Regions from separate parts of the Homo sapiens genome. Here regions 1, 2, 3, 4, 6 and 7 are each linked to region 5. The links are contacts of gene promoters, found by promoter capture Hi-C in blood cells and fetal thymus (Javierre and others, 2016). All regions are on one chromosome and are shown on one strand. Each heading gives the region's core, a stretch centred on a gene start or on the middle of the fragment in contact. The rest is flanking DNA. Distances are from core to core; before and after follow the strand shown. Region 1 overlaps ITGAM (integrin subunit alpha M). Region 2 overlaps ITGAD (integrin subunit alpha D). Region 3 has its middle 8.4 kb from the start of ITGAX. Region 4 overlaps ITGAX (integrin subunit alpha X). Region 5 holds the start of HSD3B7 (hydroxy-delta-5-steroid dehydrogenase, 3 beta- and steroid delta-isomerase 7). Region 6 overlaps ITGAM (integrin subunit alpha M). Region 7 has its middle 5.2 kb from the start of ZNF843.

What was found. Contacts are between HindIII fragments. The CHiCAGO score rates a contact against its expected background, and 5 or more counts as called.
Region 1: a fragment that was not itself captured here is called in contact with the fragment with the promoter of HSD3B7 in region 5 in 1 of 17 cell types (monocytes); the score reaches 5.2 in monocytes.
Region 2: a fragment that was not itself captured here is called in contact with the fragment with the promoter of HSD3B7 in region 5 in 3 of 17 cell types (neutrophils, monocytes and naive B cells); the score reaches 10.8 in neutrophils.
Region 3: a contact is called between a fragment that was not itself captured here and the fragment with the promoter of HSD3B7 in region 5, in 8 of 17 cell types (total B cells, naive B cells, erythroblasts and 5 more). The highest score is 7.9, in total B cells.
Region 4: a fragment that was not itself captured here is called in contact with the fragment with the promoter of HSD3B7 in region 5 in 10 of 17 cell types (naive CD8 T cells, naive B cells, monocytes and 7 more); the score reaches 12.5 in naive CD8 T cells.
Region 6: a fragment that was not itself captured here is called in contact with the fragment with the promoter of HSD3B7 in region 5 in 2 of 17 cell types (monocytes and naive CD8 T cells); the score reaches 6.1 in monocytes.
Region 7: a fragment that was not itself captured here is called in contact with the fragment with the promoter of HSD3B7 in region 5 in 14 of 17 cell types (naive CD4 T cells, neutrophils, naive CD8 T cells and 11 more); the score reaches 12.2 in naive CD4 T cells.

Annotation. Positions count from the first base shown.
Region 1 is chr16:31,293,717-31,297,593 of GRCh38, reverse strand. ITGAM (integrin subunit alpha M) reads right to left here. Exons shown (of 30, transcript NM_000632.4): 13 at 1-80. Among named protein-coding and RNA genes, the nearest start is that of ITGAM, 36 kb to the right of the region's middle. The HindIII fragment of the contact is 384 bases long and covers 1,783-2,166 here.
Region 2 is chr16:31,394,506-31,398,435 of GRCh38, reverse strand. It overlaps ITGAD (integrin subunit alpha D), which reads right to left. Exons shown (of 30, transcript NM_005353.3): 3 at 974-1,077; 4 at 770-840; 5 at 527-641. Among named protein-coding and RNA genes, the nearest start is that of ITGAD, 3.1 kb to the right of the region's middle. The HindIII fragment of the contact is 5,767 bases long and covers 1-3,930 here.
Region 3 is chr16:31,344,952-31,348,561 of GRCh38, reverse strand. No RefSeq gene overlaps it. Among named protein-coding and RNA genes, the nearest start is that of ITGAX, 8.4 kb to the left of the region's middle. The HindIII fragment of the contact is 1,480 bases long and covers 691-2,170 here.
Region 4 is chr16:31,374,586-31,378,703 of GRCh38, reverse strand. ITGAX (integrin subunit alpha X) reads right to left here. Exons shown (of 30, transcript NM_000887.5): 21 at 1,789-1,905; 22 at 1,625-1,704; 23 at 1,439-1,522. Among named protein-coding and RNA genes, the nearest start is that of ITGAD, 17 kb to the left of the region's middle. The HindIII fragment of the contact is 1,195 bases long and covers 2,052-3,246 here.
Region 5 is chr16:30,982,794-30,986,456 of GRCh38, reverse strand. It overlaps HSD3B7 (hydroxy-delta-5-steroid dehydrogenase, 3 beta- and steroid delta-isomerase 7), which reads right to left and starts at 1,250. Exons shown (of 7, transcript NM_025193.4): 1 at 1,160-1,250; 2 at 633-804; 3 at 253-408; 4 at 1-34. The coding sequence starts at 798. It overlaps SETD1A (SET domain containing 1A, histone lysine methyltransferase), which reads right to left. Exons shown (of 19, transcript NM_014712.3): 18 at 2,685-2,822; 19 at 1,793-2,607. The coding sequence ends at 2,434. RefSeq lists an enhancer at 1,269-1,781. The HindIII fragment of the contact is 29,451 bases long and covers 1-3,663 here.
Region 6 is chr16:31,315,326-31,319,456 of GRCh38, reverse strand. All of the region lies in intron 14 of ITGAM (integrin subunit alpha M), which reads right to left. Among named protein-coding and RNA genes, the nearest start is that of ITGAX, 38 kb to the left of the region's middle. The HindIII fragment of the contact is 2,960 bases long and covers 1,126-4,085 here.
Region 7 is chr16:31,446,178-31,449,865 of GRCh38, reverse strand. No RefSeq gene overlaps it. Among named protein-coding and RNA genes, the nearest start is that of ZNF843, 5.2 kb to the right of the region's middle. The HindIII fragment of the contact is 6,267 bases long and covers 1-3,688 here.

The DNA.
Region 1 (3,877 bases), core at 725-3,224, 310 kb before region 5:
GCCCCGATGAGGACCAGGTCGGTGCTGCCGTTGCTGTCCACGTCCACGGAGCAGAGGGAGGCCCCGAAGTAGGCGCCGATCTGAAAGAGACAGGACCGTAATCACACACCTCTTCCCACCTAAAGCAGATGTGGAGGTTTTCTCTCTCTGAAGAAAAGTTATGCCTGCTGGGGGAATCCCTCTGGAGCAGATGTGATCTTCTATATGGTTCATGATAAATTATCACTTGAATGTGCTGCCAGCTAAAGGAACCTATATAATAAGCCTGGCAGAATGGTTTCTGCCTGTAATCCCAGCTCCTCGGGGGGCTGAAGTGGGAGGATCCCTTGAGCCAAGGAGTTTAAGGCTGCAGTGAGCTTTGTCACCACTGCACTCCAGCTTGGGCAACAGAGCAAGATCCCAATCTCTAAGTGTATATATATATTTTTTAATAATTTAAAAGATAAAAAATAAGCCTATAGTAGAGTCAATGGGCAGTGAGTGAGGATTTACTCCAGGTGGTATTCCTGGGAGATTATTAAGGCAGCAAAGAAGAATTTGGGTTGGAAAATACATAGAAAATTCTAGAAGAGAAGACAGAATACCACCCTTTCAATATATTGGGAATCTTTAGGGAGGTAAAAAGTCAAAGTTGGCACTCTGACTAATAAGGCTAATAACTGGCTTAGATTAAAAATAACTATTTGTTATTTGAATATTTGTTGTGATATTAAGAAATATCTTCAAGGTCAATATGTAGAATTCATCCATAAAATTCACCTATTTAATCATACATTCATTCATTCATTTATTCATTCATTCAACAAACAAGTGTTTCTTATTGCTAAGCACACAGCTGGGTAATAGAGATACAGTGCCTTCCAGGGCCCTCAGTGCAGCCAGGTGGAGGAGAGGAGAGTAATCAATGGATTAACAGGGAGATGTGTATAGCAATTTCAAACTGGGACAAGTTCTAGAAAGGGAATGTGCAGGGGACATCATGCCACGGCTCTGCAACGTGATTTCTGCCTCATACACCATTGAGGGAAGACTCATTGATAACTGAATACTTTATCCTAAAGTCAACAGAATTTGATTGTTTTTTAGGTCAGATTTATTGGGGAAGAGTTTACATACAATAAAATTCAGCCTTTTAGTACATAGTTTTATGAGTTTTGACAAACATATAAAGTCATATAACCGGCCAGATGCAGTGGCTCATGCCTGTAATCCCAGCATTTTGGGAGGCCAGGGCGTGTGGATCACCTGAGGTCAGGAGTTCGAGACCAACCTGGAAATCATGGTGAAACCCCATCTCTACTAAAAATACAAAAAAAAAAAAATTAGCAGGGCATGGTGGCGGGCGCCTATAGTCCCAGCTACTCAAGAGGCTGAGGCAGGAGAATGGCGTGAACCTGGGAGGTGGAGCTTGCAGTGAGCCGAGATAACGCCACTGCACTCCAGCCTGGGCAACACAGAGAGACTCTGTTAAAAAAAAAAAAAAAAAAGATAAAAAGATAATAACCATGATCAAGTGTGATTTATCCCTGGGATGCGAGATGCAAGGATGATTCCACATATGCAAATCAATTAATGTGGCATATCACATTAACAGAATGAAGGACTAAAACCACATGATCATCTCAATATACGCAAAAAAAAGCATTTGACAAAATTCAACATTCTTTTATAATAAAAACTCTCAATAAATTCGCTACAGAAGGAATGTACCTCAATATGATAAAGGCCATATACGACAAGCCCACAACAAACATCATACTCAATGGTGAAAAATTGAAAGCTTTACCACTAAAATGAGGAAAAAGGCAAGAATGCTCACTCTCACTACTTCTATGTAACATAGTACTGGAAGTCCTGGTCACAGCAATTAGGCAAGAAAAATAAATGAAAGAGACCCAAATCAGATATAAAAAAGGAAATTTGTCTCTGTTTACACTTAAAATGATATATATATAAAAACATATATATATAAATATATTTTTAAAAAACCCTAAAAACTCCACCAAAAAAGAACTACTAGAACTAATGAATAAATTCAGTAAAGTTACAGGTTACAAAATCAATGTGAAAAATCAATAGTGCTTCTATACACTAACAATGAACTATCTGAAAAAGAAATCAAGAAACAATCTCATTTACAATAGCATCAAAAAAAATACCTAAGCTTAAATTTAACCAGAGAGGTGAAAAACATGTACACTAAAACTATAAAACATTGATTAAGGAAGTTAAACAAGACAAAAATAAATGGAAAGATATCCTATGTTCATGGACTGGAGTATTAATGCAATCTTCTGATTCAGTACAATCCTTATCAAAATCCCAATGGCATTTTTTTACAAAAATAGAAAAAAAACTAAAATTTATGTAGAACCACAGAAGACCCTAAATAGCCAAAGCAATCCTCAAGAAAAAAAATACTGGAGGCATCATAATTCCTGATCTCAAAACATACTGTGTCAAGAAAGCTCTAGTAAGCATAACAGCAAGGTGGTGGCATAAAAACAGACACATCAACCAATGGAACAGAACAGGGAGGCTAGAAATAAAACTATGCATTTATGGTCAATTGATCTTCAATAAAGGTGCCAAGAATATGCAAAGGAGAAAGGACATTCTCTTCAACAAATGGTGTGGGGAGAACTGGATATTCATATTCAAAAGGATTAAATTAGACCTTTATCCCAAACCATATACAAAATCAACTCAAAATGGATTAAAGACTTAAACACAAGACCTGAAACTGTAAAACTACTAGAAGAAAACAAAGGGAAAAGCTTCTTGACAATCAAGCTTCTGAGAAATGATTTTTTGGATATGACCCCAAAAGCACAGGCAACAAAAGCAAACCAGACAAATGGGGTGGCATCAAACTAAAAAGTGTCAGCTTAACAAAAAAAGAAAATTTCAGGCCAATATTCTTGATGAACACTAATGCAAAAATCCTCAACACACTACCTGCAAACCAAATCCAGCAGCACATCAAAAATCTAATCCACCATGATCAGGTAGGCTTCATTCCCGGGGTGCAAAGTTGGTTCAACATATGCAAATCAATAAATATGATTCATCACATAAACAGAACTAAAGACAAAAACCACATGATTATCTCAATAGATGAAGAGAAGGCTTTAATAAAAGTCAACACCCCTTTATGTTAAAAATTCTCAATAAACTAGGTATTGAAGGAACATACCTCAAAATAATAAGAGCCATCTACAACAAACCCACAGCCAACATCATACTTGATGGGCAAAAGCATTCCCCTTGAAAGCCAGCACAAAACAAGGATGCCTTTGCTCACTAGTCCTATTCAACATATTATTGGAAGTTCTAGCCAGAGCAATCAGGCAAAAGAAAGAAAAAAGGGCATACAAATAGGAAGAAAGGAAGTAAAAAAGTCAAACTATCCCTGTTTGCAGACAACATGATTCTATATTTAGAAAACCCCATAGTCTTGGCCTAGGAGCTCCTTCAGCTGATAAATAACTTCAACAAAGTTTCAGGATACGAAATCAATGTACAAAAATCACTAGCACTCCTATACACCAACAAGAGCTGGGAGCCAAATCAGGAAGGCAATCCTATTCACGATTGCCACAAAAAGAATAAAATAACTAGGAATACAGCTAACCAGAGAGTTGAAAGATCTGTACAGTGAGAATTGTAAAACACTGTTCAAAGAAATCAGAGATGACACCAAAAAAATGGTAAAACATCTCATGCTCATGGATAGGAAGAATCAATATCATTAAAATGGACACACTTCCCAAAGCAATTTATAGATTCAGTGCTATTACTATTAAGCTACCAATGACATTCTTCACAGAACTAGGAAAAACTATTTTAAAATTCATATGGAATCAAAAAAGAACCT
Region 2 (3,930 bases), core at 885-3,384, 410 kb before region 5:
TTTTTTTTGAGATGGAGTTTTGCTCTTGTCACCCAGGCTGGAGTGCAATGGCACAATCTCAGCTCACTGCAACCTCCGCCTCCTGGGTTCAAGCGATTCTTCTGTCTCTGCCTCCCGAGTGGCTGGGATTACAGGCGCACACCACCACATCCTGCTATTTTGTTTTGTTTTGTTTTGTATTTTTAGTAGAGGGGTTTCACCACATTGGCCAGGCTGGTCTCGAACTCCTGACCTCAGGTGATCCGCCCACCTCAGCCTCCTAAAATGCTGGAATTACAGGCCTGAGCCACTGTGCCTGGCAGGGACCCTGTCTTAAAAAGAAAAAAATATAAAGAAAAACCCTGCAAAGAACTTCTACCCTGGAGCAGCAGGGCTCCTGCCTGAGCCACCCTCTTCTCCTGGCTTCTCTCCTAGCCACACTCGGCCCTCCAGGGAGGGCACAGGGGCCCAGACACAGGCCTCACGCCTGCTCACCCTCAGTGCCAGCATGTGCTCCACAGGGAACCATGGCCTGCCAGGGACCTACCTGGCGTGGCGTCGGGGACTGTCTGGATGATCTCCCAGCGCGAGCCCAGCAGGAGGCAGGAACCCTTTGAGTATGAGTTCTCCCCACAGACTCTGTGCAGGGTCGGGCCACAGGCCTGGAGGCAGAAGCCTGTGAGCCAGGAGTCCCTAGCAGCCCCTCCTCCTTCACTCCCAGCCCCAGCCTCCTCCCCAACAACACCCCCCGCCCCACCCCACCCCCCCGTGGCCCAAGACACTCACTCACCAGGAGCCGGGAGCCGTTGGTGGAGGCTGCCAGGGTCAGGCCCAAGGACATGTTCACGGCCTCAGGGCGGACTGCAAGGGCAGACACGCGGGGTCTCACTCACAGCACACACTCATTTGCGGGGAAGGTCTGGACTGGAAGCTAAGCGGGGGCACAGTTGGGTCCAGGAGGGTTGAGGGGCCCAATTCCCAGGTGGTCACTCACTGTGCAGCGGGATGGGCTGGCACATGCCGGTGGCAGCTGCGCAGTCATACAGCCGTCCCGTCTGGTTGGCCGCCACCACCTCCAGGGGTGCTCCCACCACGAGTCTGGAGACACAACCATGGCCATGTCACTGCAGCCACAGGAGGGGTGGGAGCAGCGGGCACTTGGGGGTGAGGAAGTGTCCCTCCATGGGGAAGCGAGACTCTGTGGGGGAAATTCCTGGCATTTGCCACTTGGCAGAATATTCAGAAATCAGGGCCCAAGTGTAACTCACAGATGCCCAGGGGCCATGCTGGGGTTTATTTGGTTTTGAGTGTGCATAAGTACGTATGTGTGTATTTATGTTTAGAAATTTCTTTTTAACATTCACCAAAAAAAAAAAAAAAAAAAAAAAAAAAAACCTATTTAAAGACCAAAATGGCATTTCCCAATCATGGGTAAGCACATTGCGTTTCTGAGTTGCCATTATTTTGAACCACCCAAGAAATAAGATCATCTCAAGTTAATTGGAACAATTTCCTGAAGACATGTGCTTTCAAAACAAATAGTTGATTCTGTAATTCATTGGACCAATTTAAATATTGTATAAGCAATTTCAATTGGCCAATGTAAAGCAGTGTACTAGGATCCATAACTATATCTATAGTTATGTAGAGTCAAGGGTTTATTTGCAAAACTCCCTGAGTGGGAAAGTTTTTTAATTTTGGAAATGTTTTCTCACTACCCACAATCTCCTGTCTGTGAGAAAAGCAGACAGATACTGGTGTATTTTAATGCGCCAAGCAAGGCTTCATTAAATGGCCATGTGAGGGTTCCTTCTAGGTGCCGCTCCTTTACAGAAAGCTACAATCCCTGTGCATCATGATTCAGGGGATGCCTAAGGCTTTGTGAAGAAAATCTGAGCATTGGCTAGAGAGGTAGCAGTTTGGAACCTGCTGATACAAACGATGAGCAAAACTTTAGTGTAACCCATCAACCCATATGTTTTTTGAGACAGAGTTTCACTCTGTCACCCAGGTTGGAGTGCAATGGCGTGATCTCAGCTCACTGCAACCTCCACCTCCCAGGTTCAAGCAAATCTCCTATTTCAGTCACCCAGCTAGCTGGGATTACAGGCACCTGCCATCACGCCAGGCTAATTTTTGTATTTTTTAGTAGAGACAGGGTTTCACCATATTGGTCAGGCTGGTCTTGAACTCTTGACCTTAGGTGATCCACCCGCCTCAGCCTCCCAAAGTTCTAGGATTATAGGCATGAGCCACTGCACTCAGCCAATGTATTCTTTTTTTAAAATGTGGCCCAAAAAACTGATGGTGACAGAAGTCTGACCAGGGGTTCTCTGGGGATGTTGGGTGATGAGAAGGGGTCCACGGCAGCCCTGTGCCTGTGGGATTTGACACTGGAGCAGCTGACCTAGGTGGGGCTCACCCAGGCACGCACATGTGTATCCTTTATCAGATTGGGTCTTTCAGATTTGTGCACCTCAGTTGACCACATTTCCAAATAAAGAAAAACAAAAGCCTGGTGCCTGGTGCTTGCTTCCATCCCCCCAGACTGCCAGTCACATGAGGAAGGGAGAGGGGTGCGCGGTTGGAGCTCGGTGACCTCTTATAGCTCCTCGTGACCAACTGAGCCTTCCTGTCCACTGGGGCTCACTGCCAGCACCACTTCCTCCATGGAACCCTCCTGGGTCTGCTCTCTCCCTGCCTGCGCCCCCCAGACCTTGGTGACACCTGTGTCACATTGTGACTTGAACTCTCTGGGACAGGAGAATGTGAGCTCCTGGAAGTGGGGGCAGGTTCATAATTTGTGGGTCCCAATTTGAAATAAAACTGTGGGGTCTCTTGGGGTTGGGGGGCTCTTACCTTTCTTCTGCTCTCTTCCTCAACCTGTCCTGACGTTTTTTATTTGCTATGTAGTGTCCCACTCCCTCGGGGTACTCCCAGAGTGAGCGCCCCTAACTGACTTTACCCAGCTCATGCCAGGGGCGGAAGGTAGCAGCGGTCATTGCTCCCACATGGGTGGGGGAGCCAGCAGCTGATACCCCTTCACCACCCTTCAGGAGGCGGTGGGAGGTGGGGCTGCTGCTGAGCTAAGGCTCCAAACCCCCAGTGCATCTCCCTTCTCCCATGACTTTTTTTTTTTGACGGAGTCTCACTCTGTCACCTAGGCTGGAGTAAAGTGGCACGATCTCGGCTCACTGCAACCTCCACCTCCCAGGTTCAAGCGATTCTCCTGCCTCAGCCTCCCAAGTAGCTGGGATTACAGATGCCTGCCACCATGCCCGGCTAATTTTTTTTGCATTTTTAGTAGAGATGGGGTTTTGCTGTGTTGGCCAAACTGGTCTCAAACTCCTGGCCTCAGATGATCTGCCCGCCTCAGCCTCCCAAAGCGTTGGGATTATAGGCGTGAGCCATGGTGCCCAGCCCTGCCATCATTCTTTACTTGCAAAACACAAATGCACAGATAAAATTTTTAAGAATTGGCAAGACAGGGTGGCTCACACCTGTAATCCCAGCACTTTGGGAGGCCAAGGCAGGAGGATTGCTTGAGCCCAGGAGTTCAGCCAGTCTGGACAACATAGCAAGACTCCATCTCTGTAAAAAGTAAAACAAAACAAAACAAAAAACAGGCATGATGGCATGCACCTGTGGTCCCAGCTATTCAGGAGGCTGAGGTGAGAGGATCACTTGTGCCCGAGAGTTTGAGGCTGCAGTAAGCTGTGATTGCACCACTGCACTCCAGCCTGGGTAACAGAGCTGGAGTAAAAATAAAAATAAAAATAATCAGGAATTTCAAGAGGTCAAGGGCAGAACATTAAACTCCAAAGTTAATGAGTGTGGGCCCTGTGTGACCATACTGGCCCCAAGAAGTGGGCCCTGCCTGGGAGGCAGGTTCAAGGCTTCCCTCCCGAGGTAAGGTAGGGTCTTGTCTAGAGTTTTGTGGCCTTTCCTGGG
Region 3 (3,610 bases), core at 181-2,680, 360 kb before region 5:
GTTCACCCATCCACCCACCCATCTGCCCATCCACCCTCCACCCCATCCTTCCATCCGTCCACTTGTCCACACACAAACCCATCCACCCTCCCATCACCCATCCGTCCTACACCCACAGACAGGAACTGACCCCTGGTTGTATCTGCTCAGTGTCCAATGCCCATCATTGGAGAGACAAGGAGAAGAAAGCAGGATAGAGTGGGGAAAGAGGCTAAGTGACAAGGAGCTCTCCCCTGACCCTGACTCCAGCCTGGTCCCCGGAAGCTGTGAGCATGAATGGGTCCTTCCTTGAGGCTGAAGTGTGGCCCTTGGTTCTCCCCGGGTGGGTCAGTCATTGACCACCAGCCATTCTTCCCCACTTCCTCTAGCTTATCCCACTGCCACACAGAAGAAGGGGCTACTCCCCTGCAGGCAAGACCATTCCCCAGAGATTGGGGGCACTTGTGAGCCTTGAGCATCAACACAGCAACTGAGAAATTGGTGTTAACCCAATGTTAACCCTCCAAGCAAGAGTTTTTAAGGGCGAGGTACATTTCAGGAAAGCAGAAGTTACAGGCAAAATCATAAACCAATACCTGGAGGTTATACATTAGTTTGGCCTAAAAAGCCAGGATATCTTGAAGCAAGGCTTACAAGTCATACATGGGTTCAAAGATTCTTTGATTTGCAATTGGTTAAGGAAGGAAAGCTTCATCTAAAAACTTGGGGTCAGCAGGAAGGAATATTAAGGTCTGGCCTATGGGAGTGACTGTCTCTCCAGGGCCCTCAGGAAGAAATTTAGAGCAAAGAATAGTGATCAGAGTTCAGTCTTCACTTCCTCCTTATCAGTGGCCTACATACCAGCAGATGGCATTTTCCATCTGGGGGTGATATGGTTTGGATTTGTGTCCCCACTCAAATCTCATGTTGGATTATAATCTGCAGTGTTGGAGGAGGGGCCTGGTGGGAGGTGATTGGACCATGGGTGCGGATTTCTCCCTTGCTGTTCTCGTGATAGTGAGTGAGTCATCACAAGATCTGGTTGTTTAAAAGTGTGTAGCACCTCGCCCTGGTCTGTCTTCTTTCCTTCTCCAGCCGTGTAAGACATGACTCCTTCCTCTTCGCCTTCCACCATGACTGTAAGTTTCCTGAGGCCTCCCCATCCATGCTTCTTATAATGCCTGAGGAACCATTAGCCAATTAAATCTCCTTTCTTTATAAATTACCCGGTCTCAGGAAGTTCTTTGTAGCAATGCAAGAACGGACTAATACAGTGGGGGTCCAGGTTTCTGAAAAACAACTCAGGGATGTACGTTAAAACCCTTGGTTTTCTGGGGAACCACACATCTTGTGGCTCTCACTTCCTTGGCTATTGTTTGAAGTGACTGTTATCTTCTTGCTTACCGGGCTGCTCATATACTTCTCCAGATTAGCAAGGTGCCTGGAATTCTCCTTGAAGAAACTCAAGATTTTTCTTTATTTCCATGTGTAGGGGAACCCAGCAGGCCTCTGAAACGGATCCACGCTCAGTCTCAGGCACAGACAACATCTAGTGACCACAGAATGATTTCATCTTAATCCCTTTTTAGGGTAAAAGGAGGGAGTGAGAGAATCCCTAGGAAGGTGGGGTGAGAGAACAGAACAGGGCAGAAATCCAGGGTCTCTGTGAGAACTTGAACCAGTGGGGCCGTGCCTGGGAGGGGCTGGGCTGGAGATGCCTGTGTGAATTAAGAGAGGGAGAATTCCAAAGAGGAGGAGTAAGGCAGGGTCATCCCACTCAGCTTCTCTCTCCTGGCCCTGGCATGGTAGCAGGATTGGTCTCAACAGGCAAATGCGTATATGGCAGAACTTGGCAACCAATGCATTCCGTTCACATTCACTCAGCCCAGCCTGCAGAGGGATCTTATCCTTTAATGGCAGTGGGGCATAGGGGGCAGATAAGGGGAAGGATTTTAGCAATTGTTCAAGTCTGCGCCAAGATGGGAATGCCCACAGAGGAAGCAGAAAGGAAATTGCTCTATTGATCTATTTATCACAGTAGCTGGACCAGAGGATTGCGGAAAGACACAAAGACCAACCAAATGAGAACAGGCGAAGTCTATTTATTCAAAGCTGGCTCTAGCAAGGGAGTCAGTGGCCATCACTGGTGTTTTGGCAGAGACTCAAAAATGGGCAGTACAGTAGGAAAGCTTTGTAGTGGAAACTGGGAAGTCTTCAGGGATGCCCCAAGTAGAAGCTGCTGGCCTGGGAAGCTGTATGTGGCTCACTGGAAGCGGGCATCCTGTGCAATTGACTAGGGGACATATTTGGCTTTGTCTGGTTGGTCCTAAGTTGGAAGTAGGGACAAAAATTAGGGAAGCCATCAGTTATTGATTAAGTCCTGGACATGGGGCTGATTGTTAGTTATTGATAGGCTTCCTGGGCTGGTTGCTGCAGGCTGGGGGGCAGATGTCTATTTTTATGTCTAGTCTGACCACTATCCCTTTGTATATTCAGTCTCTTGGACTCTAGAAAATGTGAAGTATGCCAGGTGCGGTGGCTCATGCCTGTAATCCCAGCACTTTGGGAGGCAGAAGCAGGAGGATCACTTGAGCTCAGGAGCTCAAGACCAGCCTGGGCAACACAGCAAGACCCTGACTTTACAAAAATTTAAAAATTAGGCTAGTACTGGCTGGGCACGGTGGCTCACACCTGCAATGCCAGCACTTTGGGAGGCTGAGGTGGGCAAATCACGAGGTCAGGAGTTCAAGACCAGCCTGACCAACATGGTGAAACCCCGTCTCTACTAAAAATACAAAAATTAGCCAGGCGTGGTAGCGGGTGCCTATAATCCCAGCTACTCAGGAAGCTGAGGAAGGAGAATTGCTTGAACCCAGGAGGCGGAGGTTGCAGTGAGCTGAGATCGTGCCATTGCACTCCAGCCTGGATGACAGAGCAAGACTCCGTCTCAAAAAAATAAATAAATAATTAGGCTAGCACAGTAATGTGGGCCTGTAGTCCCAACCACTCAGGAGGCTGAAGCAGGAGGATCCCTTGAGCCTGGGAGATCAAGTATGCAGTGAGCTATGATCGCACCACTGCACTCAGCCTGGATGAAAGAGAAAGACCCTGTCTCAAAAAAAAAAAAAAAAAAAAGAAAGAAAGAAAAATGTGAAGTGGCCCAGTTGGATACTATATGGTCCTGAAGATGTGTTAGGATGAAGGGAAAGGGATGTCTGAGAGCTGTCTCTCCTTCAAGAGTGCACAGAGAATAGGAAGCTGGGGAAACCCAGGCCTGTTCATTCATTCATTCCCTCTCTCAGCAATTGTTTGTTACATGTTCTGGGTATTGTCCTAGGGTCTAGGGGTGTGATGGGGCTTCCTGTCCCCTGGGAATGTACAGTCTCCAGGAAAAGAAATGCAGGTTGCCATGGCAGCAAGTGAGAGGCAGAACTTCTCCCAGCTGGGGGATCAAGAGGATCTGGAGGAAGATCACTTCAGCTGAGGCAGGGGTCAGGTGAACAAGAAAAGGAAGTGAGTTCTGGGCAGAGGATACAGCATAGGCAAAGGTTGAGAGGTGAAAGGGAGTTAGGGGAACGCGGACAGGTCCCGACCTTCCCAGATAGGCCATGTTGAAGCCGGGCTTCTCCGG
Region 4 (4,118 bases), core at 1,400-3,899, 390 kb before region 5:
AGGCCAGGATTCAAGATCAGCCTGGGCAACATAGCAAGACCCCATCTCTCCAAAACAATTTTTTAAATTAGCCAGGCATGGTGGCACACATCTGTAGTCTCAACTACTTGGGAGGCTGAGGTGGGAGGCTCGCTTGAGCCCAAGAGGAGTTCAAGGCTGCTGTGAGCTGTGATCACACCACTGCACTCCAGCCTGGGCAACAGAGCAAGACCTGGGCTTTAAAAAAAAAAAAATGAGGCAAAGAGCTCATAGCTGCCTGCAGAGGAGGCTGCCAGTGGGGCCGGGTAGTCGGTACAATGAACGGAGCAGAGAGCTCTGCCACTGACTGCAGGAGAGCAGGGGCCATGGCCTGCCCCTCCGCTTTCCTTCCATCCCTTTGTGGGGATGTAGGATGCCAGGGCTCTGTGGGACACAGCACAGAGTTGGGGTGGCCCAGGCTGACGCTGTTGACCAAATGCTACTGAGCATTGCCCCTTCCCAGTCCCCCACATACCTCCCCGGGGGCCCTTTTTTCCCATTTCCTTGGCTTTTCCGGGCCTGGGGCTTGGAGGGGAGGGAGGGCCCACAGCAGACTCTTCATGAGGTCTCAGTTTAACACCTCCTGAGCCCTTTTTGGGCACAAGCCTGGAGACCTGGTGGGCAGCTGGGACCATCACACAGGTGGCCAGTCTCACCACTGCCTCACTGCTTCACTCTTCCGGCACCTGTCCTCCAGCTGGCATAGTCCAAACACCAGCCCACCACGCCTACTCTGAAGCCTCATTCCTCCTCTGCCAATTTTTTGTAGAGCTAGGGTCTCACTATATTGCCCAGGCTGATCCTGAACTCCTGGCCTCAAGCAATCCTCCCACCTTGGCCTCCCCCAGAAATGCCCCAACCTGGCACTCCCTGTGCCCTAACCCACAGAGTCACACCTGCCATGTGTGGCCAAGCTGTGGATCACACCTGCCATGTGTGGCCAAGCTGTGGACCACACATGCCTAGAGTAGGTGAGCCCTGCCTGTGGGTCCCCTGCCAAGGGGTATGAGAGCCTGGGGCACACCCCAGCACACGAGCTCAGAGCGTGCACCTGGCTGGGAGCCTCCACGCATGCAGGTGCAGGTGAGAGTGGGAAACACCAGGCACAGGAGAACATCCAGCAAGGCACACCCCACAAGGGCGAGGGTTCATGTCTGGTTTTGATCACACATAATGGGGGCTCAGTAAATCTTCAATGAATGTCAAATGAATGTATGGAAAATAACCACAGCACCCTGCCTGGCACACAGCAAATTCGAGGAAGGCATTGGCTGAAGGAAGGTGTCTGCTGAAACACCTGACCTTTTAGTTTCAAACACCTTATCTCACCCTCTGTGGCAGCGTTTCAAGGCCTTTTTTTTTTTTTCTTTTTGAGGTCAGAGAGAAGAACCCTTTTTCCTGCAGTGGGGTACCTGCTGACCTGCTAACCACAGTGTAGACAGCATACTTCACCGGGAGCTCCAGCTGGAAGGTGGTCTTGCTGGTCCTGGGAGTGTTGTTCTCACTGGAGAAAGAGGAGAGACTCAGTTGCCAGAGGCCCCAGAGGAGGAGAATGGGGTGTGAGGCTGGAGATGAGGGGCACTGCCCCTGGCCTGGCCCGGCTCACCTGCTCACATTGGCTGTCAGAAGCAGCCGGTCTCCCAGGACAGCCTTGGGGGAGACGTCAAAGGTAGCCAAGAAGGTGATCTGAGGAAAAGGAACTGAGAGGTCACAGAGCAGTAAAGACAGGGTGGGGCAGGGGAGCAGTGAGGGGACAGAAGCCAGGCTGACCTGGGCGCCGCCACGGAAGATGAGGTGGTTGATTCTGCAGCTGGTGCTCCAGGTGCCCTGGCTCCCAACTGGGGCGCTGTCACATGTCAGGTGCAGGGAACGCAGCTGCCCTTGTTTCTAGGCATGAGAAAAAGTAGAGGAGTATTAGTTGAAATTGAAAGCAATGGCAAAAACCCAATTACTTTTGCACCAACCTAATATAACAGCATTCCAAAGACACGCCACGAAGTAGTGATAAAGCTTCCTGGAGCCCACCTTAAGCTTATGTTTTTGTTTGTTTGTTTGTTTTTTGAGACCAGGTCTCACTCTGTCACCCAGGCTAGAAAGCAGTGATGCAATCACAGCTCACTGCAGCCTCAAACTCTGGCCTCAAGCCATCCTCTTGCCTCAGCCTCCTGAGTAGCTAGGACTACAGGCACACACCACCACCATGCCTGGCTAATTTTAAAAAAATTTTTTTATAAATGGGACCTCGCTATATTGCCCAGGCTGGTCTTGAACTCCTGGCCTCAAGCAATCCTCCCATCTTGTCCCCCCAAAACACTAGGATTACAGGTATGAGCCACCATGTCCAGCCAAGGTTACGTTTTTAAAAGCTCCCCCATAGCTATCTGGTCAAACTTTCTTCCAAAGTAGAAATCTCAAATGTATTAAAATGTTCACCTTTTTATTGTTATTTTAAAGGCCTCTTATAATGGAAAATTTAAAACACATTAAAAAATAGAGAGACTGGAAAATCAACCCCATATAACCATCACTCATTTTAAGTAACCAACATTTTTCTACTCTTGTTTCTGCTATGTTCTCTTTCTGAACACTTTAAAGCACATTCCAAACACCATATTGTTTCATCTAGAAATACTTCAGTGTATACCACCAATAGATAAGGGTATTTTAAATGTAACCACAAGAACCAACAAATCACAGCCAACAAAATTAACAATTACTCCTTAATATACCAATATACTGGTCATGTTCTATTTTCTTAGATTGTCTCCAAAAATGTTATTTTACAGCTCATTTGTTAAAATCAATATTCAGCAAAGGTCCACCCATTACATTTGGTTGATATGTCTAGGAGCACTTTCATTGACAGTGATCACCCCTCACATGCAAGAGATGGCCTTTCCTGCTGTGTTCTTTTATACGTTAATCAAAATGCGCTTCCGCTGGGAATATTAGACTAAGAGAGACAGCAGAAATAACAACCAACCATCATGTATGGACCTAGTTCGAATTTTCGTTCAAATAGACCAGAAGTAAAAAGATATTTTTGAGACAGTTACACAATTTTGACTATGATCTTAATACCAAGGAATCACTTATTTCATTGGGTGTGATAATGGTGTTGAGGTCATATAAGAGGTCCTCATTGTTCAGAACTATAGAGTGTGTCTTTGTCTGTTCCCTGCTGCTATAACAGATTACCGCAAACTAGGTAATGTATCAATAGAAGCTTTGTGGTTCTGGAGGCTGGGAAGTCCAAGAACATGGCACCAGCATCTGGTGAGGGCCTTTGTGCTGCATGTGCAAGGCAGTGCATGTGAGAGTGAGAGGGAAAGGGGGCCAAACTCATCCTTTAATTAGAAACCCACTCCTGGGCTAGGCTCCGTGGCTTACGCCTGTAATCCTAGTACTTTGGGAGGCCGAATCGGGTGGATCATTTGAGGTCAGGAGTTCAAGACCAGACTGCCCAACATGGTGAAACCCCATCTCTACTAAAAATGCAAAACTTAGCTGGGCGTGGCAGTGGGCACCTGTAATCCCAGCTACTCAGGAGGCTGAGGCACAAGAATTGCTTGAATTCGGGAGGCAGAGGCTGCAGTGAGCCAAGATCGTGCCACTGCACCCTAGCCTGGGCAACAGAGCAAGACCCTCTCAAGGAAAGAAAGAAAGAAGGAAAAGAAAGAAAGAAAAAGAAAGAAGAAAGGAAGGAAGGAAACCCACTCCTGAAATAACTAATCTACTCTTGAGATAATAGTATTCATCCATTCATGAGGGCAAAGCCCTCATAACCTAATCACCTTTAAAAGGTTTCACCTTTCAACACTGTTGCATTGGGGATTAAGTGTCCAACACACGAACATTGGGTGATGCATTCAAACCATAGCAGAGTGAATAAGGAGGAGTACAATGACCCCCATGTCTGAGATTTGTTTTAAAATACTTTAGCAGGTCAGGCACAGTGGCTCATGTCTGTAACTCCAACACTTTGGGAAGCTAAGATAGGAGGACTGCTTGAACCCAGGGGTTAGAGACCAGTTTGGGCAGCATGGTAAGACCCCAACTCTACAAAAAAAATTAAAAAATTAGCCAGGTGTGGTGGTGTG
Region 5 (3,663 bases), core at 1-2,500:
GTCTGCACACAAGCCTCGATCACGTTCCGGGTACCTGGCAGAGGAGGAGGCGTATCCAAGCTGCAGCTTCTTCCCTCTCTGCATCTTCCTCCTCCCCATCCCAGGTCCAGGGAAAACCATGACAGGTCAGGGGAGGCGGGGGCAGGGCTGTCAATAGGACAACTTGTCCCAGGGGAGTCACCGGAGGTCAAGGCCAAAGACAGAGTGGGGAACAAACAGGCAAGATGGCCAGGAGTGTCCAGAGCTCCTCACCCTGCACGTTGACCTCATGGATGGTCTTGGGACTGGCCCTGCCAAACACGTCTACCAGCCCAGCCGTGTGGATGACCACATGGGCTCCGGCCACAGCTGCTGCCACCTCATGGGCCTGGGTCACGTCCCCCTGGATGGCAGTCACCCTCACAGGCCCTGGCCGGGGTTGGAGGACACAGGCCATGTCAGAGCTGGGGCCAGAGGCCAGAGGCTGGGTTCATCTTCCACCCTGGAGTCACGTTCCCAATGTGACTCACTCGACCCATCCATGTGGACAGAAACCAGCATCATCTGTTCCACTGCAGGGGTGGGGATCCCAGCTTGGGAAGGGTTGGGGAAGCGTCCACACCCTCTCCACCACAAGCTCCCCCAACAAGAACCTGTCTTCAGCTCCTCCAGCCAGGGACCCAGGTGTTGGTCAAAGACCCGCAGCTCCCCGAGCCGGGGCTCCCGCTGCAGCAGCATTCGCACCACGTGCTCTCCCAGGAAGCCACAGCCCCCTGTGACCAGGTACACCAGCTTCTGGGCCTGTGCAGAGTCGGCCATGCCTGGCTGGGGAAGAGACCTTGGCTCATCCAGGGGCTGGCTGCCACCTGCTGCAACCACCTGTTACTGCTGGAGGTGCCCTGGAGCGGTGACGAGGCTGGCGTTTGCGGGGAGGGCAGAGCTGATCCTGGGAGCTGCAGCAACCAGGCCACCTGCCGTCTGCCCCTGCTGATGGCTGAGTTACGGAGAGAGGGGCGGGCTTGGGGTGCAGGAAGGGGTCAGGGTTTAGGGAGAGAGATTTGAAGGCAGTAAAAGGGTGGGGAGGCCAGGAGTTGAGGGAGGTGGAGGGAAGGTTATAGGAAGGTGGGAAGGGCCGGATGGAGGGAAAGGCCACCTGGGCACTGGCAGCGCCTCTGCCTACCTGCAGCCGCTATCCCAGGGTGCCCAGACTGGCCTGGAGGGGCCCTCTTCTTTCGTCCAGGGCTGGCCGGCCCGCACACCGTCCTTCCGCTGGCTCCTCCTTCTCCCTCCTGCCCCATTCCAGGAACAGAGACCCGCCCAGCCACAACCCCCACCACTCTTGCCCCAAGGCGCCCCCTGGCGGCCGCTCTGTGCTCCACTGGCATCTGGGTCCAGCGGAGAACTTGGTGGGGATGAAGCTCGAACTTGCAGAGTGGGCTGAAGGGGTCTGGGGCTGTGGGTGGAGCCAGCGGTGACCTCATCCCACAGTGTGACCTCAGGCCTTCCCTCCTGCTGGGCTTCCCAGGAGGCCGGAGGTCCAGCTGCAGCTGTGATTGTAGGAAGGGGAGGCCTGACCTTGGCACCACCCTGGCGGGCACTGGTGGGGTATTCCTGGTGCGGGTGCGGCTGCTGCAGCCTGTCAGGGGGTCCGAGACAGTCTCGGACTGTCTCTGCAGGTCTGGGCTCTTGCCTGAAGGCCCCTTTACCTGCCCCACACTTCAGGTACCCACTTTTCCCTCTCTTCAACTTGCACAACCCTCCGTGCCCTCTACCCCCAACCCCTCGCTCCTGCCCAAATACACCGACCAAACACTTTTGTACAATAAAGTTTAATCACAATTATAAAAATGTGGCGTCGGGTTTGCGCTATTAACATATGTACAGTCCAGCCCAGCAAAAGGGACCCACCCCGCCATCCTGGCCTGGCTGAGCCGGGGAGTGACACCAGGGTGGAAGGGTGACCCTCAGGGTCTGGCAGGAACAGATGAGGCAGGGTTCCAGGCACGGAGTCCCCAGGACTGGGGGTGCAGAGCCCCCCCAGGGGGAGAACATGGCCACTGCCCCAGAGACCCCTAAACTGGGGAGGGGTACACGCAGGGCGTAAGGGGAAGTCCCCATTAACACAAAGCAAGAGGACTGTGTAGCCCCCCAGGACAGAATCTGTACAGGCCGGCACCCCAGGTTTCCACAGGAAACAGCTGCTGGCTGCTACAAAACATTTACAGCTTCTTCTCCGCAAAGAAAAACAATCAGGGGGTGGTGGGCAGGGGTGACAGGAGAGGCAGAAGCTGCCTCCAGGGACTGAGGCTCCCTCGCTGGGCTTGGGGCCCCCAACCCCACGCTTGGAGATGGGGGCATGTGGGCCCTGCTGAGCCCACTAAGGCTGGGGGGGTGCTGGGAGCTCAGGGCACCAGGGGGAATAAATAGGGGTGTGGGCACCCATCCTGCCCCACCTCAGTTTAGGGAGCCCCGGCAGCTCTCTGTGCCACACAGACACGGGATCTTGTTGTCTTCCAGTGGGAACTTGTAGTCGTAGGTGATCTCCTCGTCCACGCCAATGGGCTGCTTGGAGTAGATCACGATCTTCTTCTGGGACTCGATGGTGATGACCTTGGCGTAGCAGTTAGGCTGCGGATGGAAGGGCGTGTGAGCCGTGGCCACCCCCACCGACCCCCAACTCCTGCCCCGGCTGGCCCCTGGCGCACCGTGCAGCAGTGGTTGATGAATCTGGCCAGGTTGCCACACTTGGTGGCATCGATGATGGTGTCGTGGTCCACCCGGAACAGGTAGCTGCTGCCAATGCCCTCCTGCACGTAGCGCTTCTCCCGCATGTCGGCCACCATCTGCCAGGGTGAGATGCGATGGTCAGGGAAGAGTCCCCCACTTCCTGCCCCTGAGCACGCCTGCCAGCCAGCACCCCAGGTCCACGCCCACCAGGCCTGGAGCTGCAGCTCTGCCTCCAGCTCCCGCTAACCCGGCACTGACTCTCTCGACTCTGCTTCCAGGAGCCCTCCCTCTTTGGGGCAGCATCCTAAGCCTCTGGTGGCCATTCTAAGTCACCCGCAGGGAACTCCAGGGAAATCTGCACTGGGTAAGAGAGCCACTGACTCCTTCGAGCATCTGCCTGGTCACAGTGGGGTCCCGGACTGCTGGGGCAAGTCTGGGGTTGGGGCAGCTCCTGAAATGACTGGCCATGTCACCAACGGCACCCTGCTCATCTCTCCTCCCTGGACCTCTCTCCAAAACAGGCACCTGTTGGCTGCCACCGGCTAATGCAAATGGCAGGCCGCCCATGTCAGGCCCCGCACCTCCGTGTGAGGAGCAACCCTTACTTCCCAGAAGACAGTGAGGAGCCTCTGCACGCCCTCCTCGGGTGACCTCACTCCCTTCCAGAGCCTCAGCCGCCAGCTATGTGGTGGGGACTCCTCCCAAACTTCCATTTCCAGCCAAAAGCCACCTCAGTGGAGCTGCTGGGCGTCATCCCCTAGATGTCCCTGGGGCATTGCAACCCCACATGTCCAGACTGGAGCTCATCTTGACCATATATTTGTTCTTCCTCCTCACACCCATCTCACTGGCCCTCCCATCATACTCCCAGCAGCTAAGAGCAGCACCGAGAGAGGGCCTCCCGTCCCCCTCACCCTCTCACTGCTGAGCCCAGCCAACCACCTTGCACCCAAAGCC
Region 6 (4,131 bases), core at 1,356-3,855, 330 kb before region 5:
GACTTTAAGTCAAAAAACAAATAATGATATTATATAATGATGAAATGGCCATTTCACCAGGAGTTACAACAATTAATTATATACACACCCATCAGACATCTGAATATATAAAGCTAATAATGACAGAACTGAAGGGAGAAATAGACAGCAATTCAATAGTAAGAAACTTCAAAATCCTACTTTCAATAGCAAATAGAACAACTAGACAAAAAAAAAACCCAAGGGAGAATGGACCAAATGGACTTAACAGACATATACAAAATACACAAGCCAACTACTGCAGAATATACATTCTTCTCAAGTGCACATGGACCATTCCCCAGGACAGACCACATGTTAGGTCACAAAACAAGTCTTAACAAATTTGAAATGATTTAAATTATATCAAGAATCTTTTCCAACCACAATGGAATGAAACTAAAAACAATACCAGAAGAAAAACTGGAAAAAAACATACATATGTAAAAATTAAACAATACACCATTGAACAACTAATGGATAAAAAAATAAATTAGAAAATAACATGAGATAAATGAAAACAAAAACACAATATACCAAACTTAATGGGAGGCAGCAAAAGCAGTACTAAAGGAAAGTTCGGGATAAACACCTAATTTTAAAACAAAAAGACAAATTTCAATTACAAAACCTAACTTTACACCTCAAGAAATGAGAAATAAAAGAACAAACTAAACCTAAAGTTAGTAGAAGGAAGAAAATAATAAAGATTACAGAAAAATAAATCAAATAGAGAATAGAAAAAAATCAATGAAATTAAGTTGATTTTTCAAAAAGATAGAATTGACAAGCTTTGGCCAGGTGCAGTGGCTCACGCCTGCAATCCCAGCACTTTGGGATGTCGAGGCAAGTGGATCACCTGAGATGAGGAGTTCAAAACCAGCCTGGCCATCATGGTGAAACCCTGTCTCTACTAAAAATACGAAAATCAGCCAGGTGTGGTGGCACGTGCTTGTAATGCCAGCTACTCAGGAGCCTGAGGCAGGAGAATCACTTGAACCTGGGAGGTGGAGAATGCAGTGAGCTGTGATCATGCCACTGCACTCCAGCCTGGGCAACAGAGTGAGACTCCATCTCAAAAAAAAAAAAAAAAAGAACTGACAAGCTTTTAGGTAGACCAAGGAAAAAGGGAGAAAAAACAGAAACAACAGATAAGTAAAATTATAAATGAAAGAACATACAACTGATGCCATAGCAATAAAAAGGATCATTAAGAGACTACTATGAACAATTATATGTTAACAAACTTGATAACCTTGAAGGAATGGATAAATTCCTAGAAATATACAACCTACCAAGCCTGAATCATAAGGCAATAGAAAGTTTAAACAGATCTATAATGAGTAAGGAAATTGAATCAGTAATCAAAGACCTCCTAACAAAGAAAAGCCCAGGACCTGGTGGCTTCTCAGGCAAATTCTACCAACCAAACATTTAAATAAGAATTAATATGAATTCTTCTCAAACTCATCCAAAAAACTGAAGAGGAGGGAATACTTCCAAACTTATTGTATGAGGCAAGCACTATCCTGACACTAAATCCCAACAAACACACCATGAGAAAAGATCACTACATGCCAATTTCCCTATTGAACATAGATCCAAAATCCTAAATAAAATACTAGCAAACTGAATTCAATAGCACAAAAGGGTCATACGCCATGACCATGTGGGCTTTATTCCTGGCATGCAAGGATGGCTCAACATATGCAAATCAATAAATGTGATGCACCACATTAACAGAATAAGGAATAAAAATAACATGATCTTATCAATAAGAAAAGAAAGCATTTAATAAAACTAAACATCTGTCTTAGCTTATTTGGTATAACAAATAACATAGACTGGATGGGTTATAAGCAATAGAAATTTATTTCTCATAGTTCTGAAGACTTGTGACATCCAAAATCAAGGTGCAAGCAGATTCAATATCTGGTGAGAGCCTATTTTCTGGTTCATAGGCAACCATCATTTTGCTTTTGTCTAAGGGCACTAATCCTATTAATGATGGCCACACTCTCATGACCTAAACACCTTCCAAAGGTCCCATCTACAAATACCATCACACAAGGAATTAGGCTTCAACATATGAATCTGGGGAGGACACAAACATTCAGGCCACAGGAATAGCCACTCATGATTAAAAACCCTCAACAAACTAGAAATACAGGGAAATTACATCAACATGATAAAGAACATTAAAAAAAGTGTCTAGTTAACATCATACCCAGTGGTGAAAATTTGATTTTACCACTAAAATTAGGAACAAGGCAAGGATGCCCACACTCACCACTTCTATTTCAACACAGTACTGAAAGTCCTAGCCAGAGCAATTGGGCAAGAAAAAGATAAGAAATGCATTCAAGTTAGAAATAAAGAAAAAAAAATTGTCCCTGTTTGCAATTGACATGATCTTATATATAAGAAACTTGTTATAAATACTCTACGAAAAAGTTATCAAATTTAATAAACAAATTTAGTAAAGTCATGGAATACAAAATGAACATACAAAAATTATTTGTTTCTATACACTAACAACAAACTATCTGAAAAAGAAATTAATCCTATTTACAATGGCATCAAAAAATAAAATGCTTACAAGTTAATTTAACCAAGAAGGTGAAAAATATGCACACTAAAACTATAAAACATTGACGAAAGAAAGTTAAGACAAAAATCAATGGAAAGATATCCCATATTATGGATTGAAAGAATATTTTTAAAGGTCCATACTATTCAAAGTGATCGATAGAGTCAATGTAATTCCTACCAAAATCCCAATGGCATTTCTTACAGAAATAGAAAAAACAATACTAAAATTAATATGAAGTCACAAAAGACCTCAAATATCCAAGACAATCTTGAGCATAAACAACAAAGGTAGAGGTATCACACTACCTGACATCAAAATACACCACAAAGGTATACTCAGCAAAACAGCATGACACTGACATAAAAACAGAGACATTGACCAATGGAACAGAATACAGAGCTCAGAAATGAACCCATGCATTTACAATCAACTAATTTTCTTTTCTTTTTTTTTTTTTTCCAGACGGAGTCTTGCTCTGTTACCCAGGCTGGAGTGCAGTGGCATGATGTAGGCTCACTGCAACCTCTTCCTCCCAGGTTCCCCCATTCTCCTGCCTCAGCCTCCCGAGTAGCTGGAACTACAGGTGCCCACCACCATGCCTGGCTAATTTTTTTTTTTTTTTTTTTTTTTTTTTTTTTTTTTTTTGAGACGGAGTCTCGCTCTGTCGCCCAGGCCGGACTGCGGACTGCAGTGGCGCAATCTCGACTCACTGCAAGCTCTGCTTCCCGGGTTCACGCCATTCTCCTGCCTCAGCCTCCCGAGTAGCTGGGACTACAGGCGCCCGCCACCGCGCCCGGCTAATTTTTTGTATTTTTAGTAGAGACGGGGTTTCACCTTGTTAGCCATGACGGTCTCGATTTCCTGACCTCATGATCCACCCGCCTCAGCCTTCCAAAGTGCTGAGATTACAGGCATGAGCCACCGCGCCCGGCCAACAATCAACTAATTTTCAACAAAGGTGCCAAGGGCATACAATGGGGAAAGGACAGTCTTTTTAACAAATGGTGTTAAGAACACTGGATATCCACAGGCAAAAGAATGAAACTGAGCCTTTATCTCAAACCAAATACAAAAATCAAAAGTGCTGGGCCGGGTGCAGTGGCTCACGCCTGTAATCCCAGCACTTTAGGAGACTGAGGCGGGTGGATTACCTTAGATCAGGAGTTCAAGACCAGCCTGGCCAACATGGTGAAACCCCGTCTCTATTAAATATACAAAAAAGTAGCCAGGCATGGTGGCGGAGGCCTGTAATCCCAGCTACTTGGGAGGCTGAGGCAGGAGAATCGCTGGGACCCGGGAGGTGGAGGTTGCAGTGAGCTGAGATCGTGCCACTGCACTCCAGCCTGGGCAATAGAGAGAGACTCCATCTAAAATAAAATTAAATTAAAAAATAAAAAAATTAAAAAGTGAGTTAAAGGCTTAAATGTAAGATCTAACACTATAAACTATTAGAAGGAAACGTAGAGGGAAAGCTTCATGACATTGGTCTGGGCAATGATTTTTTTATATGATCCTGAAAG
Region 7 (3,688 bases), core at 285-2,784, 460 kb before region 5:
TCTGCCACCACACCTGGCTAATTTTTTGGAATTTTTAGTAGAGACGGTGTTTCACCTTGTTGGCCAGGCTGGTCTTGAACTCCTGACCTCAGGTGATCTGCTTGCCTTGACCTCCCAAAGTTCAGGGATTACAGGCGTGAGGCACCATGCCCAGCCAGTCCCTGTCTTCAAATACAGTCACACTGGGGGTTAAACAATGTATAAATTTGGGGGCGATACAAACATTCAGTCCATAACACCCCCTATACCCCAACCCTAGGCAACCACTAATCTACATCTTATCTCTACAGATGACCTATTCTGGACATGTCATATAAATGGAATCATACAATGTGTGGTCATTCGTGTCTGGCTTCTTTCATATAGCATAATGTTATCAAGGTTCATCCACACTGTAGTATCTCATTTCTTTTTATTAGGAATAATACAGTTTCACTTTATGGATTGCTGTGGTTTGAACCTGTCCCCTAAAGTTCATGTGTTGGAAACTTAACCTCCAATTCAACTGTTGAGAGGTGGGAACTTTAAGAAGTGATTAGGTTATGTGAGCTCTTCCCTCATGAATGGATTAATGGCATTATTGCATGAGTAGGTTAGTTATCAAGGGAGTGGACAGCTGATAGATAAATGGATGGGTTCTGCCCCCACCCACCCCCTCTCTTGCACTGTCTTGCCCTTCCGCTTTCTGCTGTGGGATGAGGCAGAAAGAAGGCCCTCACCAGATGCAGGGCCCTTGACCTTCGACTTCCCAACCTCTAGAACTGAAAGAAAGATATTTCTATTCTTTATAAATTATCCAGCCTTAGGCATTCTACGATGCAGCACAAAACAGACTAAGACATGGATATGCCACTTTCTTCAATCATCAGTTGACAGACATTTGGGTTGTTTCCACTCGGGCTATTATGAATAATGCTGCTATGAATACTCACGTACAAGGTTTTTGTGGAATATGCTTTTATTTCTTTTGGTTACATATCTAGAAGGGAAATTGCTGGATCATATAACTCTATGTTTAAACATCTGAGGAACTGCCAGACCATTTTCCAAAGTTAATGAATGATTTTACGTTCCAACCAGCCATGTGTGAGGGTTCCAATCTCTCCACATTCTCACAAAAACTTGTTAATTAACTGTCTTTTCAGCTTTTTTTTTTTTGAGTCGGAATCTCACTCTGTCACCAGGCTGGAGTGCAGTGGCGTGATCTCAGCTCACTGCAACCTACGCCTCCCAGGTTCAAGTGATTCTCCTGCCTCAGCCTCCCAAGTGACTGGGATTATAGGCGCCTGTCACCACGCCCAGCAAATGTTTGTATTTTTAGTAGAGACAGGGTTTCACCAAGTTGGCCAGGCTGGTCTCAAACTCCTGAGCTCAGGTGATCCGCCCACCTCGGCCTCCCAAAGTGCTGGGATTACAAGTGTGAGCCACTGCCTGTAAATATTATCATTTAAAAAATATCATTTTTAAAAATATTATTTAAAAAAAAAATTTTAATGTTTTTTAAATATTATTTTTAAAAATAATAATAATGTTATTATTATTTGAGATAGAGTCTCCATCTGTTTCCCAGGCTGGAGTGCAGTGGCGTGATCTCAGCTCACTTCAGCCTTCACCTGCCAGGTTCAAGTGATTCTCCTGCCTCAGCCTCCTGAGTAGCTGGGACTACAGGCACCCGCCACCATGCCTGGCTAATTTTTTGTGTGTTTTTAGTACAGACTAGGTTTCACCATGTTCACCAGGCTGGTCTCGAACTCCTGAGCCCAGGTGATTCGCCCACCTCAGCCTCTCAAAGTGATGGGATTACAGGCATGAGCCGCCACTACTGGCGTAATTACCTGTCTTTTTTATTATCACCATCCTAATATGTATGATGTGGCACCTCGTTGTAGTTTTGATTTGCATTTTTCTGAGGACTAATGATGTTGAGGATCTTTTCATGTAATTATTGGCCATTTATATAACTTCTTTGAACTGTCTATTCAAGTCATTTGCCCATTTAATTTTTTTTCTTTTTCTTTCTTTTTCTTGAGACAAGGACTCCTCTGTTGCCCAGGAGTGCAGTGGCACAATTTCGGCTTACTGCAGCCTCCACCTCCATGGTTCAAGTGATTCTCAGCCTTCCGAGTAGCTGGGACTAGAGGTGCAGGCCACCACACTCGACTGATTTCTTTCTTTCTTTCCTTTTTTTGTTTTTTGAGACTGAGTCTTGCTCTCTCGCCTAGGCTGGAGTGCAGTGGCGTGATCTCTTCTCACTGTGACCTCTGCCTCCCGGGTTCAAGTGATTCTCCTGTCTCAGCCTCCCGAGTAGCTGGGATTACAGGCACATGCCACCATGCCTGGCTAATTTTTGTACTTTTAGTAGAGACAGGGTTTCACCATGTTGTCCAGACTGTTCTCAAACTCCTGACCTCAGGTGATCCGCCCACCTCAGCCTCCCAAAGTGCTGGGATTACAGGCGTGAGCCACCGTGCCCAGCCTAATTCCATTTTTAAATTGGATTATTTGTCTTTTTTATCATTGAGTTGCAATAGTTCTTTATACAGTCTAGGTACAAATCCCTTCCCAGATATATGATTAGCAAAGATTTTTACCTGCTCTGTGGGTTATCTTCTCCTTTTCTTTTTTATCTTCTCTTTTTCTTAATAATGTCCTGTGAATCTCCCTGACGTCTGGGTATTTGGAAAGAAAAAGAAAAAAATTAAAGAATAATGTCATATGAAGCGCAAGAGGTTTCAATTTTGATGGTGTTCAGTTTCTGTATTTTTTTCTTTTGTTGCTTGTGCTTTTGGTGTCATATCTAAGAAAGCATTGCTTAATTCAAAGTTATAAAGATTCTAAGAGTCCTAACTTTTAGTTCTATGATTCAATTTGAGTTAACTTTTATATGTATTGTGATATAGGGATCCAAATTCATTCTTTTGCATGCAGATATTCAATATCTACCTTGTATATATACATATATTTTTTTAATTTTTAATTTTTTTTTTTTTGAGACAGAGTCTCCCTCTGTCACTGAGGCTGGAGTGCAGAGACACAATCGCAACCCACTGCAACCTCTGCCTCCCAGGTTCAAGGGATTCTTGTGCCTCAGCCTCTCGAGTAGCTGGGATTAGAGGTGTGTGTCACTATGCCCAGCTAATTTTTGTATTTTTAGTAGAGACAGTGTTCTGCCATGTTGGCTGGGCTGGTCTCGAACTCCTTGCCTCAGGTAATCCGCCCACCTTGGCTTCCCAAAGTGCTGGGATTATAGGAGGGAACTACCTCGCCCTGCCTATTGTATAATTTTTTATTGAGAGTGCTATGGTTTGAACATCCCCTCCAACTCATGTTGAAATTTAATTGCCATTGTAACAATATTAAGAGATGAGGCCTTTACGAGGTGATTAAGTCATGAAAGTTCTGTCCTCATGAGTGGATTAATGCCATTATCATGGGAATGAGTTAGTTATCACAGGGGTAGGCTCCTGATACAAGGATAAATTCAGTGCTATTTCTCTCTGTGTCTCACGTCTCACAAGATTGCATGCCTGATATGGTTTGGCTCTGTGTCCCCACCCAAATCTTGTCTCAAATTGTAATCCCCACATGTTGGGGGAATGGCCTGGTGGGAGGTGACTGAATCATGGGGGCGGACTTCCCCCTTGCTATTCTCGTGATCGAATTCTCAGGAGATCTGGTTGTTTGATAA